2 separate regions of the Homo sapiens genome follow, and region 1 is linked to region 2. Evidence: promoter capture Hi-C in 16 types of primary human blood cells and fetal thymus (Javierre and others, 2016). All regions are on one chromosome and are shown on one strand. The core of a region is centred on a gene start or on the middle of the fragment in contact, and the rest is flanking DNA. Distances in the headings are between cores, read along the strand shown.

Region 1 (6,436 bases), core at 1,032-3,531, 170 kb before region 2:
TTGTTCATGCTAATTCAAATAGGTAGCACCAGAACCAGAATTAACGTGCTATTCTTCAAAATTGCTGCTGCTATTGACAAGAGGTAGTTGAGCATTTTCACCATCTGCCAATATACTGTGAAAATTTTAGTACCAATTGATGCTTTTGAGTTAAAGCAGATCAGCTATGAGAAGAACTAGTGGTATACAACATTGTACAGCTGAGCACGTGGCTCGGTGGGTGGAGGAGAAACTGCATCCCCTTTGGGTCGTTGCCTGACTGAAGGGACCATGTGCATGATATGTTTGGGAGATAGTAGAGGAATAAAGTGATAATTTTGGGGGGAAGCTGTCAGTAGATTGGAAGCCTGCATAGTACAGCTGAAAAGTTTTAGGTTTGCTGGGTAGGCAATAGGGAACTTTTGGTAGTGTCTTAAATGGGGTCATTGTAATCACTCCTAAATTTTGGAAAGATTTTTAAAGAAGAGGGTCTTGAAGGCTTTGACCAGGTTCTAGGCACTGGAAATAGTAAAGAAACTACATGAGAGAACTGTTGAAATAAAAAAGAGCCCCATGATTGTCCGTACAGGTTTTGGTGGGAAAGATGTTACAAAAATATTCGGTTGAATACATGGAAATAATTGTAGGATCATACATGAGAACAGAAGTTGTAAATGGGGCTGTTTTGGGGAATGGATGTTAAATTTGGGATTTATACGTGCTGAATTGGGAAAAAGTGAAATAGTAAGTGGAAATGACCTGAAAGTTGGAGATGGAGGCCTGGACTAGGGAAGGTGCTGGATTGTTTATATTTATGTCAAGTCCTAAGCAGAAAGATAAGAGGTTCTGACCCAGAATGTGTCAGATGGGTGAGATAAGGAGGGTGTAGAGGAGACTGCACTAGGGAAAGAGACAGAGATAGAGCCTTGGAGGGCAGGTGAGAGCCAGGCGAGCAAAGTCCAGGCCAGGGAGCTTTTCAAGTCATGTGATGGTCAAGCCAGACCCAACGGGTGCCTGGAGGGAGAGGCAAGAAGGAGGTCCTGGGAGACCTGGAAGCCGTTGGTGGGAAAGGGGCAAAGGGAAGTGGAGCCAGGAGACCAGCAGGTATTGCACAATTACTCAGACAGTTTGATTTTAGTATGGATGGGGTAGCTTAGGACAGTGAATGAGAAACAGGTGTGTTACTGTGGGTTTAGGGTCATCTGGGCCACTCCTGGCATCTGGAATTTCCCAGACATGCCATTTGAAGCCACGCCAGATGCTGTGAGTTACTGCTTTGATGTTTTGTATTTTGTGTTGTTTTCTGCATGTAATTGTGTTTGCACTGGATGGAAATGGAAAATACCAACTTTCCAGAGGAGGAAGGACCAGTGAGGGGACAGAAACCCAAATGACTTACCCAGAATAGAAAACTGGATTGTGATTGAGCTAGGACCCCAACCAAGGTCTCCTGACTCCTGGATGAAAATTTCCTGGATGACAGCAGCCGTCAAAACCAATGGAACCTGTCCCTGCTTTCCTTTTTAGCTACATTTCATTTGTCTGTTCATTTATCTATTTATTGGACTTGGGACAGTCTTTTTCACATTTTTTTTTCTGTCAACTCATCTTTTATGAAGAACAGATTATCCACCTTCAGTGACACTTGCCCCCCACTAGCTTTTCTCAACTACAAACAAAATACAGCACAGAATTCACAGGAACATGTAGGCAGTGGGATGAAGCTTTGAGCCTCTTTTCTACAAAGAGCTAGTCCTCAGTGCTGTATGTTTGGAGCAGTGCTAGGCCAGTTGTTTTGTTGGACAGACAAAGGTCAGTAAAAAGGGGTTTATTTGATTTTTAATTAGGAATATTTCATGTTAAAGTTACTTACCTGTAAGTAAAAGATCTTAGAAAATCTAAGTTAACATATCATGAAATAGTAAACAGTGAGATGAGAGAATATATGATTAAGTACTGGATAGAAGTGAAAGCAGTAAACGTTATTATATTATAGGTAGAGCCTGTAGTCTCCCTTTCTTATTCAGTGTAGTCTGTTACTTGCAGCGCATTAGAAATATGATTTCTAGTAAGCGGTGCTTATGCTCATATCTCCTGACAGCGTAGCAGTTTGAAGGTCTTAAAGGGTGTGTCATGACTAGGTTTGGATTTTTTGCCTTTCAGTGTACTAGTACATTTTGGAATAGCTCCGGAAATTAACAGAAACATTTGCTGGAAGGAGGAGGTTACTATTTGTATTTTAAATCAGTTGCTTAGCATTTTGTCATTGTATCAGCTTTCATGGGAAAAAGGTTGAAACCTGTAGCCTTGTATCAAATTGGCTAAAAAAGAAAAATTAGTGTTAAATTATATTTTGGTTTAGTCTAGCAGCTTGGGATAAATTGAGGCAATAGCAACCTTCAAAGCTGGTGTCCATCTGTTAGTAAAGTGTGTAGTTAACATCCACGGTGCCGTGCGGTGTCTGCTTTGCGCTCTGACCCTGTTAGTCAGCAAAGCGCAGGATGTCATGGTGGGCTTGGAGCAGGGAAGGGCTGGAGAAAACCATTTGCAGGAGCCTTGGTGGAGGCATTGCAGGCTGTTGGGTCTCCCCGCAGCAGAGAGAATGGTCTTTAGGGGCATTTTGGCCAGGGTTGCTGGGAGAGGCTTTCCCAAATACTTGGTAGCAATTGGGTGAAAAGCTGCTGGAGCATCTTCTGGCTCTGTTGATGTTTCTTACGGACTTCCAGCTCATTAGTGAAAAAATAGAGTCAACATCTTTCTTTGCAGGGTGAGAAAGAAACACCCAGAGATTTTATTTGGCTTTTAATTAGGGATTATTCCAGTGCTAGAGTGAATGGTCTCAGAAATATTAAATGTTCAGTTTGAATTAGTTTATTACAGAAAAGCTTCTTGGTTTGCAGTATGAAATCTGCAACTAAAGTTTACACTTTTTACTTAGGCAGAAAATATATACTGAAGACATGGCCTTTGGAGCTTCAACTTTTCCACCTCAGTATTTATCTTCTGAGATAACTCTTCATCCATATGCCTATTCTCCTTATACCCTTGACTCCACACAGAATGTTTACTCAGTGCCTGGCTCCCAGTATCTTTATAACCAACCCAGTTGTTACCGAGGTTTTCAAACAGTGAAGCATCGAAATGAGAACACATGCCCTCTCCCACAAGAAATGAAAGCTCTGTTTAAGGTGAGTAGTGATGTTGTTTTGTTGTGTCCTTTAGTTGGTTGCTTTAATGTTTAAAATGTAAAGAAATGGTAAATTTGTACATCATATTTAAGTATCATGTATTTTTTTGTATTTAACCTTTTAAAAAATGATTGAATTGTGAATACTTAATATTTTGCTGCTTTAAACCTTTTTTATAGTGGTGGTTTTATTTCATGTTGCTTTTTAATCTTTCCTGCAGAAGAAAACCTATGATGAGAAAAAAACGTATGATCAGCAAAAGTTTGACAGTGAAAGGGCTGATGGAACTATATCATCTGAGATAAAATCAGCTAGAGGTTCACATCATTTGTCCATTTACGCTGAGAATAGTTTGAAATCAGGTAAAAATAACCAACAATGTAGTATAATGCGAGCCTACTCCTTGTGCCCCAGAAACATTCCTGCTATGTATACAGCTGTTTCTATGGGCTTGTTCATTGTGACTACTCCAAGAAATGAGACCTGGGTCTGACACAGCTTAGGGCGTCAGACTTCCTGAGCAATTCTAGAGGTATTTCTTCCCAGGGATGGGATTATTATTTGGTACCTGTTGCATTGTGGGATCTTAAGTGCCTATAATTTGTATTATTTGGTATATACATTTTTCTCTTTTCATTGACTTCACTCATAAACCATCTGGTACAAGGGACGTTTATTAACTGTAGTAACTGTGGTCTTATAATTAAATGAGTGGCTTCATGTAGCTGCAGCCTACCTTATCCATTGCATTTCAGGAGAAAGATGGGGAAGAGGTTATGCGTTTTATGCTACCTGCTTCCCTCTAGTTTATTCCAGCAAACTGAAAGATGGAAAGTTTACTAGCACAGAAAATTCATTAGAGTCCCTTTAAATTTGCAATACAATAAAATGTCTAAAAAGAATAATTAAAATGCCCAGCTGCACAATCAGGTTAAGGTAACTATTTCATCAGCCTTAGAATTATAGTCATGCCTCACTTACTGATGGGGACACATTCTGAGAAATGTGCCCTTAGGTGATTTCGTCATTGTGGGAACATTTAGAGTGTACTTACACAGACCTAGATGGTATAGCCAACCACCTAGCTAGGCTATATGATATAGCCTGTTGTTCCTAGGTTATAAACCTTTAGACCATATTATTGTACTGAATATTGTAGGCAGTTGTAACATAGTGGTAAGTATTTGTGTATCAAAATATAGAAAAGGTACAGCGGTGGCTCACGCCTGTAATCCCAGCACTTTGGGAGTCCGAGACGGGCGGATCACGAGGTCAGGAGATCAAGATCATCCTGGCTAACACGGTGAAACCCCGTCTCAACTGAAAATACAAAATATTAGCCTGGCGTGGTGGCGGGCACCTGTAGTTCCAGCTACTCGGGAGGCTGAGGCAGGAGAATGGCATGAACCCGGGAGGCGGAGCTTGCAGTGAGCCGAGATCAAGCGTCCCTGCACTCCAGCCTGGGAGACAGAGCGAGACTCCGTCTCCAAAAAAAAAAAAAAGATATAAAATGTTTTACCCGTATAGGGCACTTACCATGAATGGAGCTGGCAGAACTGGAAGTTGCTCTGGGTGATTCGATGACTGAGTGGTGGGTGAATGTGAAGGCCTAGGGTGTTACTGTACACTGTTGGAGACGTTCTAAACATTGTACACTTAGGCTACATGAAATTTATAAAAGTATTTTTTTCAATAATTAACCTTAGCTTACTGTAACTTTTTTACTTTATACATTTTTAATTTTTCTAACTTTCTGACTCTTGTAATAACACTTACCTTTTGTAATAAAACACAAACATGCAGAAAAACCAAAAATACTTGGCTTGGACAAAAATATTTTCTTTCTTTACATCCTTACTCTATAAGCTTTTTTCTATTAATTTTTTTTTAACTTTCTACACTTTTTAATTAAAAACGAAGACACAACCACACACATTAGCCTAGGCCTGTACAGGGTCAGAATCATCTGTATCACTGTCTTCCACCTCCACATATTGTCCCACTGGAAGGTCTTCAGGGACAGTAACATGCGTGGAGCTGTCATCTCCTGTGATAACAATGCCTTATTCTGGAATCCCTCCTGAGGGACCTGCCTGAAGCTGCTTTATACTTAAGTTTTTCTTTTGTCGTTTTGTGTTTTTTTTTTTTTTTTGAGACAGAGTCTCACTGTGTTACACAGGCTGGAGTGCAGTGGCACTATTTTGGCTCACTGCAACCTCTGCCTCCCAAGTTCAAGCAATTCTTGTGCCTCAGCCTCCCAAGTAGCTAGGGGGCATGCGCCCCCACACCCAGCTAATTTTTGTATTTTCAATAGAGTTGGGGTTTTACCATGTTGGCCAGGCTGGTCTGGAACTCGTGGCTGCATCTGCCTGCCTCAGCCTCCCGAAGTGCTGGGATTAAGGCGTGAGCCACCTTGCCCTGGCCAAATTTTTCTTTTGTAAGTAGTGGGAGTATATACTCCAAAGATAAAAAGTATAATACATAAACAAGTGACATAGTTGTTTATTGTCATTACCGAGTATTATGTACAGTACATCATCGCATGTACTATACTTTTATATGCCTGTTAGCTCAGTAGGTTTGTTTACACTGGCATCACCACAAACGTGAGTAATCGCACCATGACATTACCAGTAGACAATAGGAATTTTTCAGCTTCATTACAATCTTATGGGGCTGTTGTATACGTAATCCATTGCTGATCAGACCATCATATGTGGCGCGTGACTATACATACTCCTAAATGTACAGTGCATTTTGGTTTTTCTGCATGATGGTCCAACCAGAGTGATTGATACTTATGGTCATTTAAACTTTATACTTTTACAAAGGAAGGTGAACAACACCGGTAAGAGTTACGGTGTTTTGACAACAACCTGTTGCATCAATAGCAATAGTCTTTGTACTCTGCAATTTTTGCTTGCATACTGGTCATCAAACAGTAACTAAATTTTTACTCTTACTTTTAATTTTGTAATTACAGATGGTTACCATAAGCGAACAGACAGGAAATCCAGAATCATTGCAAAAAATGTATCTACCTCCAAACCTGAGTTTGAATTTACCACACTGGACTTTCCTGAACTGCAAGGTGCAGAGAACAATATGTCAGAGATACAGAAGCAACCCAAGTGGGGACCTGTCCACTCTGTCTCTACCGACATTTCTCTTCTAAGAGAAGTAGTAAAACCAGCTGCAGTGTTATCAAAGGTGAGGTGAGGGTTTCTCTCTTTTTCTTTTTCCTTTGTACACTTTAAATTGTCTCATTT
Region 2 (6,603 bases), core at 1,040-3,539:
GGAACCAAGAGAGGCAGAAGCCTGAACAGCCTCAATGCAGAAGCACAGAAGATAGAGAAAACCATTGATCTTTGCAATGCATTATTGATTTTGCTGTTGTGCTGTCAGCAGCGGACGTTCCCTCCCTCCTCAGTCAAAGCTGGCCATTAGCGTGCACTCCCAAGCTTTGGCCTAGACACACCCGCTTGGTGTGGGGAAAGCGGCTCTAGGTAACATCTGCCTCCAGCGGTCCACATGGAGAGGACTGTCCACAAGTGGATGATGTCACCAAGGACATCTCCCTGGCCCCAGACCCACTGGATATCAAATGCAACATGGTCGCTGGTCTTGCACTCTAAACCTCAGCCCAGGACCCCAGGCACTCAGGGGGGTCTGTGCAAGGCTGCATTTTCAACAGACTCTGGGTGTGCTTCTCAGGAGGTGGGCCCCCTCCCATGGAGTCCCTCCCTTGTGCTGTGCTGCAAGACCTTGGGCTGGCATGGCAGCTGGGGCTCTGCATCCCCACGGTGGCCTTTTGCCTGTCTGCACTCTGAAATACAGCCACTGAGTTCCACCGTCTACCAACTCCTAAGCGGCCCACCCTCCTGGGACCCCAGGGCTGCTCCTGGCACCAGTGATGTGTTTCTATTTCTTTGTTTGACTCGCTGAGTGTACCACGTACACTCTTCTCAGTCTGAAGGTCTGGCCTTATGGGAGGGCAGTCTTTGCTCACAGAAACAGGCCAGTGCATCCCTCATCTTCCCACCCCAGCCTCCCTGGTGGGTATGCTGAGCCCGCCTGCTTTCTTCTTCTGGCTGACGACTACCAAGACATGATATACGCAGACACCAACTGTCAAAATGACAATCAGGGCATTATCATCTCTACCAGAATCCTGCCCCTGCACTGGCCAGAGCTGCCTGTTTCTGGGACACAGTAAACATTCCCAAATAACCTCGCCTGGGCAGCCAGCAGGCAGGCCCCAGGCCTAGGACACATATGAGGTGACAGGCCACTGGTGTCACGTCACCCCCAGGAAAGGAAACTTCCGTTCCGTGGCGCCTGGTGGATTTGAAAAGACTCAGAACAGCAGGGTGAGATGCTTGGCCCCAGGCCCCACGTCCAGCTTGGCCTTCGGGGGCCTGGCCACCCACGAGCCTGGGATGTGCTCAACACAGAGTGAGGTTTTCAAAACAAAAGCAAAGCAACTTCATGTGGAAAACCTTCCGGAAAGCAGGACCCAGCCCTCGACACCAGGCCTCATTTGACGCAAACTGCCCACTTACAGACTCCCATTCACCCACTCTCCCACCTACCCCCCAAAATACTAAGCCAGAAAATAGAGGACAACCACGAGTTCAACTCTCCTTTACACGTTTTTACTGGCATAACCCCAGTAGAGCCAGCCCCTTGCAGCTCACTAGGCGGCTGCAACAGGTGCAGCCCAAGCTAAGGCTTGTGGTTCTCCTGGGCTGTTCTAGAATAATGCAACCAAAACCCGAAAGGAAACCGAGGCCTGCAGCACTCACTGCCAAGGCGGCGACCTGACCACTGCGGCCCAACCTGCCCCACCTGTCTGAGTGCGCGGCGCCGGGTCCAGTGCACAGGGTCCGCGGCCTCCGCGACCAAAATAGAAGCCCGCGGGGGCCCGGCCAGAGCCCGGCTGGCCGGAGTGGGGCCTGACCTGGCGGGGCCGGACTGGGCGGGCCGGGGCGCGACGGGGCCTGGCCGAGCGCACCGCCCCCTCCCTGGCCCGGGTATGCAGCGCGCCCCCGCTCCCCCGCGCCCAGAGGAGCCACCTGCGCGCAGGGACTGGGGAGGCAACCGGGAAGGGGAGAAGGCCGGGGAGGGATAGCAGAGAGGTCCAGGGGGTCGGAGGGGTCCGGGTAGGTGTCTCTGGGAGGCGTCCCAGGAGGGGCCCCGGGGGGATCCAGGAAGGAGTCCAGGGGTCCGGGGATCCCAGAAGGAGGCTCCTGCAGGGGTTCGGGGAGGGCCCCGAGGGTCCGGTGAGGAGCCTAGGGGTGTGGAGTGGGGGCTCCGCGGAGGGTCCAGGCCGCCCCCAGCGCACCTGCCCGGCCCCGCGCGCCCTCCCTCCCGCGCCAGCCCGGCCGCTTACCTGCAGCGCGCGTCCTGCCCGCGGCGGCTCCCGGCCGGGCGAGTTCGGGCGCCAGGAATGGCGGCGGCGGCGGCGGCGGCAGCGGCGGGAGGCGGCCGGGCCGGGGAGGGGGTGGCGGGGAGGCCCGGCGGCGGCAGCGGCGGCTGGGATGCTGCGGCGCGCGAGAGCGCTGAGGCCGGCGCGGGGACGGAGTGCGCGGGGCGGGCGCGCAGGCCCCTCCTCCGCTCCCCCTCCCTTCCCGCCTCCTCCCCTTTCCCTTCCCCTTCCTCTCCCCCTTCTTCTCTTCCCTCCTATGGCCCCGCCCCTTTCTTCCTCCTTCCTCCTCCCTCCTCCTCGCCCCTGCTCACCTCCCTCCTTTCCCTCCCCCAACCTTTCTTTTCCTCCCTTCTCTTTTTCCTCCTCTTTCTTCACCTTCGCAACACTCTTCCACCTCTCTCCCCTTCTCCCCACTTTTGCTCCCCACTCCTTCCTCCTCACCTCCCATCTCTCTTGCCTCCCCGCCAGGCCCAGAGGGTTGTCCCTCAGCCCTGGGTTGGTCTCTGCTGAGTCAAGCACCCGTTCCCAGGACCAAGAGGTGCCCTGTCACCCTCTTCCTCACCAGCTCTCAATAGACAAGCTTGCCCCTTCTGGGGTCCTGGATGAACCCCACCCTTTCCAGGCCTCCCCCAAATCCCCCAGTTTTTTTTCACCCCCAGACCCTGGGCCAGCTCTTCTGAGAACCTGACCTGCAGTGTGCGTGAGGCACGTGGCACCCAGAACACTTGGCTGCTGACTTTGGGCAAGAATATTTCACACCAGGCTGCTCCCATTCCCCAGGGGAGGGGCTGGCACCACCTGGAGTCTTGGTTTCCCTGAACCCCCGTGCTAGCCTTTTGCCAAACGTTCATCATTTTCCACTCTGTATGGCAAATGGTCCTCCTGTGAGGCTGCTGGTGAGACTTGTTTGTGACTAGCCCATGGGTTTGGGGATCTGGGGGCCCTCAGAGATGGTGCTGCTCCATCCAGACCTCTTCCCTCTGCCCCCAGGAGAGGTGACAGGGCTCGCACAGTGACTGGCCAGGCTGGGAGGCCTATTGAGGAACACAGTCCTGAGAAGGGGACACAGTTTCTTACGGAACCAGCTAAGATTTCCCCTAAATGTGAGGAGTTGGGGAGCCCCTCTCCAGGCCAGGTGATACCTCCCTGGACTACAGACTGCTGTTGAGGGGCAGGGGCCCTGAGGCTGTTTTCCTGCTGAGCACTGGCTCTGAGAGCCAGAGTTTACAAATGAAGCCAGTCCCAGGCCCAACAGTCACAGAGTTAAAGGCCCAACAGTCTCAGAGTTCCGTTCTAGGGCCTCCTGTGGTTTCTGTGGTTCAGTGCCGGAGCTCTGAGAATAGGGCTTCGGCCCAGCAAAGGCTAAGATGGCAAAGCTGGTGTCAAGCAGGGTGGGGTGGAGCACGCACCCCCTCCTCCCTCTACGGCATGGCAGCCACCACCCTCTTGCTGAAGAATCCAGACCTGGAATCTGATAGACTCCCTTGACTCACAGCTCTGCAGTTTCCAAATAACCTCAGGCCTCAGCAAACCTCTGTACCCTGCAACATGAGGACAGTGTGGTCGTCCTGGAGGGTTTGGGGAGCACGGAGAGAGAATGGCAGGTAAAGCCCACTGCACCGTGTGCTCGGGTTCAGTGCTGGTGACTATTACAGGAAAAACTAGAGAAGTCTTTTCCAAGCTCTTTTCCAATTGTAGGGGTCCATGAATCCATGTTCCACATCCCATTTGGATTGAAACATAATGGGAACGGATTAGGACAGAACTGGTTTAACAGCATTCTATACCCAAGGAGGGATGCACGCTTAGGATCTACACATGCAAGCATTGCACTGATTGGGGTGGGGTGGGGGGACTCTCTTTTATTCCTCACTAGTCAGACACATCTAGAATACCATGCCCTTGCTTGGTGTCTAAGGCAGCCAGCAGTATCCCGTGGGAGGGGAGTTGACCCACCGGGAGTCTTCAGCCTAGAAAATCAATGTGTGGAGCACAAGACAGAAGAACCCCAATATGTGCAAAACTGTCCCGGGAAGAAGGATTACTCTGTGGTGTTATGAAGGGCAGAATGAGGACAGATGGGTGGAAATTAGATGAGAAAGTGGATTCCTGCCTATCGTGGGCGCTTTCTGACAGACCTCACTGTGGAAGAGCCGGCTGCCCCTACAGGAGCGTGCCCTTCACAGCCAGCGTCTAGACAGGCCTGGGGCCACCTTGGGAACACACTGCAGGGAGGGGACCAGCAGCAGAGGGGTATGCTTCTCAACAACTGCTGAATTCTCTCCTGGCTTTTAGACCCACATGCTCAGAATCTAATAGAGGGCAGCCCAGGGCAAAGAAGAGACTTTGCATGGCTGTCCTGGGGCCCACACTTCTGGCATCATGACCTTCCAGAATACTGTCCTCTCTAGCCTGTTTCCTAATGCATACAGAAGAACATGAGAGAATTCAGTAAAAACTCCAAAAAGCTTTCCGCAATGCCCAGGCTGCGAACACAAGGGCTTCTTTGCACCGTGCTTATATAAAATTGCCCCCAAACATGTTTATTGCATTCATGAAGGAGACAGGACTCTTAGTTGTAAGTGATAGAACTTCAGCCCATACTATTGGCTCACTTGCATCCAAAGATGCCCCAAGTACCATTAGAACCGGGACTTGGATGCCATTATTAGGTCTTCCTCTTCCCTCCTCTCTGACCTTCTTCCCTGTTCCCTTCTCTCAGCATGATTGCCTATGTCTCCCAAAGTGACCAAGCTTGCCTTTTTATTCTTGTTTCACACTCTGTCGTGGGACATTTCAAACATAGATATAAAAGTAGCAGGCTGGGTGCAGTGGCTCACGCCTGTAATCCCAACACTTTGGGAGGCTGAGGCAGGCGGATCACCTGAGGTCAGGAGTTCGAGACCAGCCTTGCCAACATGGTGAAACCCCGTCTCTACTAAAAATACAAAAATTAGGTGGGCATGGTGGCACAAACCTGTAATCCCAGCTACTCAGGAGGCTGAGGCAGGAGAATCACTTGAACCCGGGAGGCGGAGGTTGCAGTGAGCCAAGATCATATACCACTGCACTCCAGCTTGGGCGACAGAGCAAAACTCAGTCTCAAAAAATAAAAATAAAAGTAGCTAAATGAACTCCAATCTTGCCTTACCTCTCACCCCCTTACTTTCCCCTCCAATATTAAGTTCAAGCATATCAAAGATCATATTAACCAATCTATTTCCTAGTTTCCCCAGAAATGCCAAGTGTTTGGATACTGAGACCATGCTTTGCAAAGTTTCTCTGCATTTCCCAGCCAGAATGTTGACACCATCTATATGCATATGAGCATAGTAACTGGATTGATAATAGTTAAGTCCCATATGAGAAAAAAACTCAAGTATGGCAGCACAAATAATACTCAGCTTCCAACACGGCCCAGGTGGATATGAGGAGAGAGGATCCTCTGCTTCCACTTTGCAGTGCAGGAGGGAACAGGCACGTAGTGGGCTGGGAGCCGTTTCCAGATCGCCCAGTGTGGAGCCTTACGCAGTGGAGGAGGTGTCTTCAGAAAGAGTCGGCCTGCCGCCTCTCACCTGTAGTGGCATGCAGAGTGTCCAGGCTAAGCTTAGAGAGAGAGTCAGCACAGCAAGTGGAGAAACGGGGTCCTCTGAGGGACTGTGGGAAGGTTGGCTCTGGGACCTGCCAGCAGCTTCTAGAAAAGTCCGGGGAGATGTCCTTTGAATGTGACCACACTCTGCAGAGACGTGGGTGAGCCACACCTCCACTGTTACCATGCAGTGGCTGCCAAGACCATGCTGTGACTCCTACTCCTAGCTCTGTTCCTCCCCGCACCCCAGAAAAGGCTGGTAAGAGTGTGGCCTTCCTGGCCAGCCTCTCCAAAATAGAGAGTCCACACCGGTCTCTGTCAGGCACCCTGATTGTTAGAACATGTCAATGAAGGAAGCCGAAAGGGATTTTGAAGGCTCTGAGATCCCCAGGCACCTCTAGCACCCTCATATGTCCTTACTGCCACTGAGACCCCCACAGGACCCACAGAGCTCTTTTTGTTAAAGCCACACTTGGAAACGTGGGGTCACACCAGCAGAAGCATAGAAATGAAGGCCGTGCTGAGATGTTATCATTGCTCTGTGCTCCTGCACAGCGTTCAACTGTCAAACCACTAAGTGCTAGATAAATCTGGTGAAGGGGTGTAATCCATTTTTGGTGCACACACTCATGGCAGCACTTCCCACATCACTGAACATGCAGAATGGTTTACCAAGCCATCCTTCGTCATACTGGGGAGTGTACAGGATGCTGATGTGGCCCCATCTGACCATTGATCTAATCAGTGCTGGTGTCTGCTGGATTAGACTTGCCCCAGCAAGTGAACTTGCCCCAGCAATGCCTTTCTGACCTTTAAGGTGACTGCTGTCACCAACTGCCAGACCATGGACCTCTTCGCATCCCTGGCTGGCTGGCAGACACCC

The links. The method cuts DNA at HindIII sites, captures the fragments that hold promoters and counts their contacts. A CHiCAGO score of 5 or more calls a contact.
Region 1: a contact is called between a fragment that was not itself captured here and the fragment with the promoter of SEMA4D in region 2, in 9 of 17 cell types (total CD8 T cells, neutrophils, non-activated CD4 T cells and 6 more). The highest score is 11.4, in total CD8 T cells.

Annotation. Positions count from the first base shown.
Region 1 is chr9:89,322,510-89,328,945 of GRCh38, forward strand. It overlaps SECISBP2 (SECIS binding protein 2), which reads left to right. Exons shown (of 17, transcript NM_024077.5): 3 at 2,918-3,167; 4 at 3,388-3,529; 5 at 6,151-6,377. Among named protein-coding and RNA genes, the nearest start is that of SECISBP2, 7.2 kb to the left of the region's middle. The HindIII fragment of the contact is 1,161 bases long and covers 1,702-2,862 here.
Region 2 is chr9:89,495,824-89,502,426 of GRCh38, forward strand. It overlaps SEMA4D (semaphorin 4D), which reads right to left and starts at 2,290. Exons shown (of 16, transcript NM_001371194.2): 1 at 2,096-2,290. RefSeq lists silencers at 1,610-1,759, 2,190-2,379. The HindIII fragment of the contact is 2,547 bases long and covers 163-2,709 here.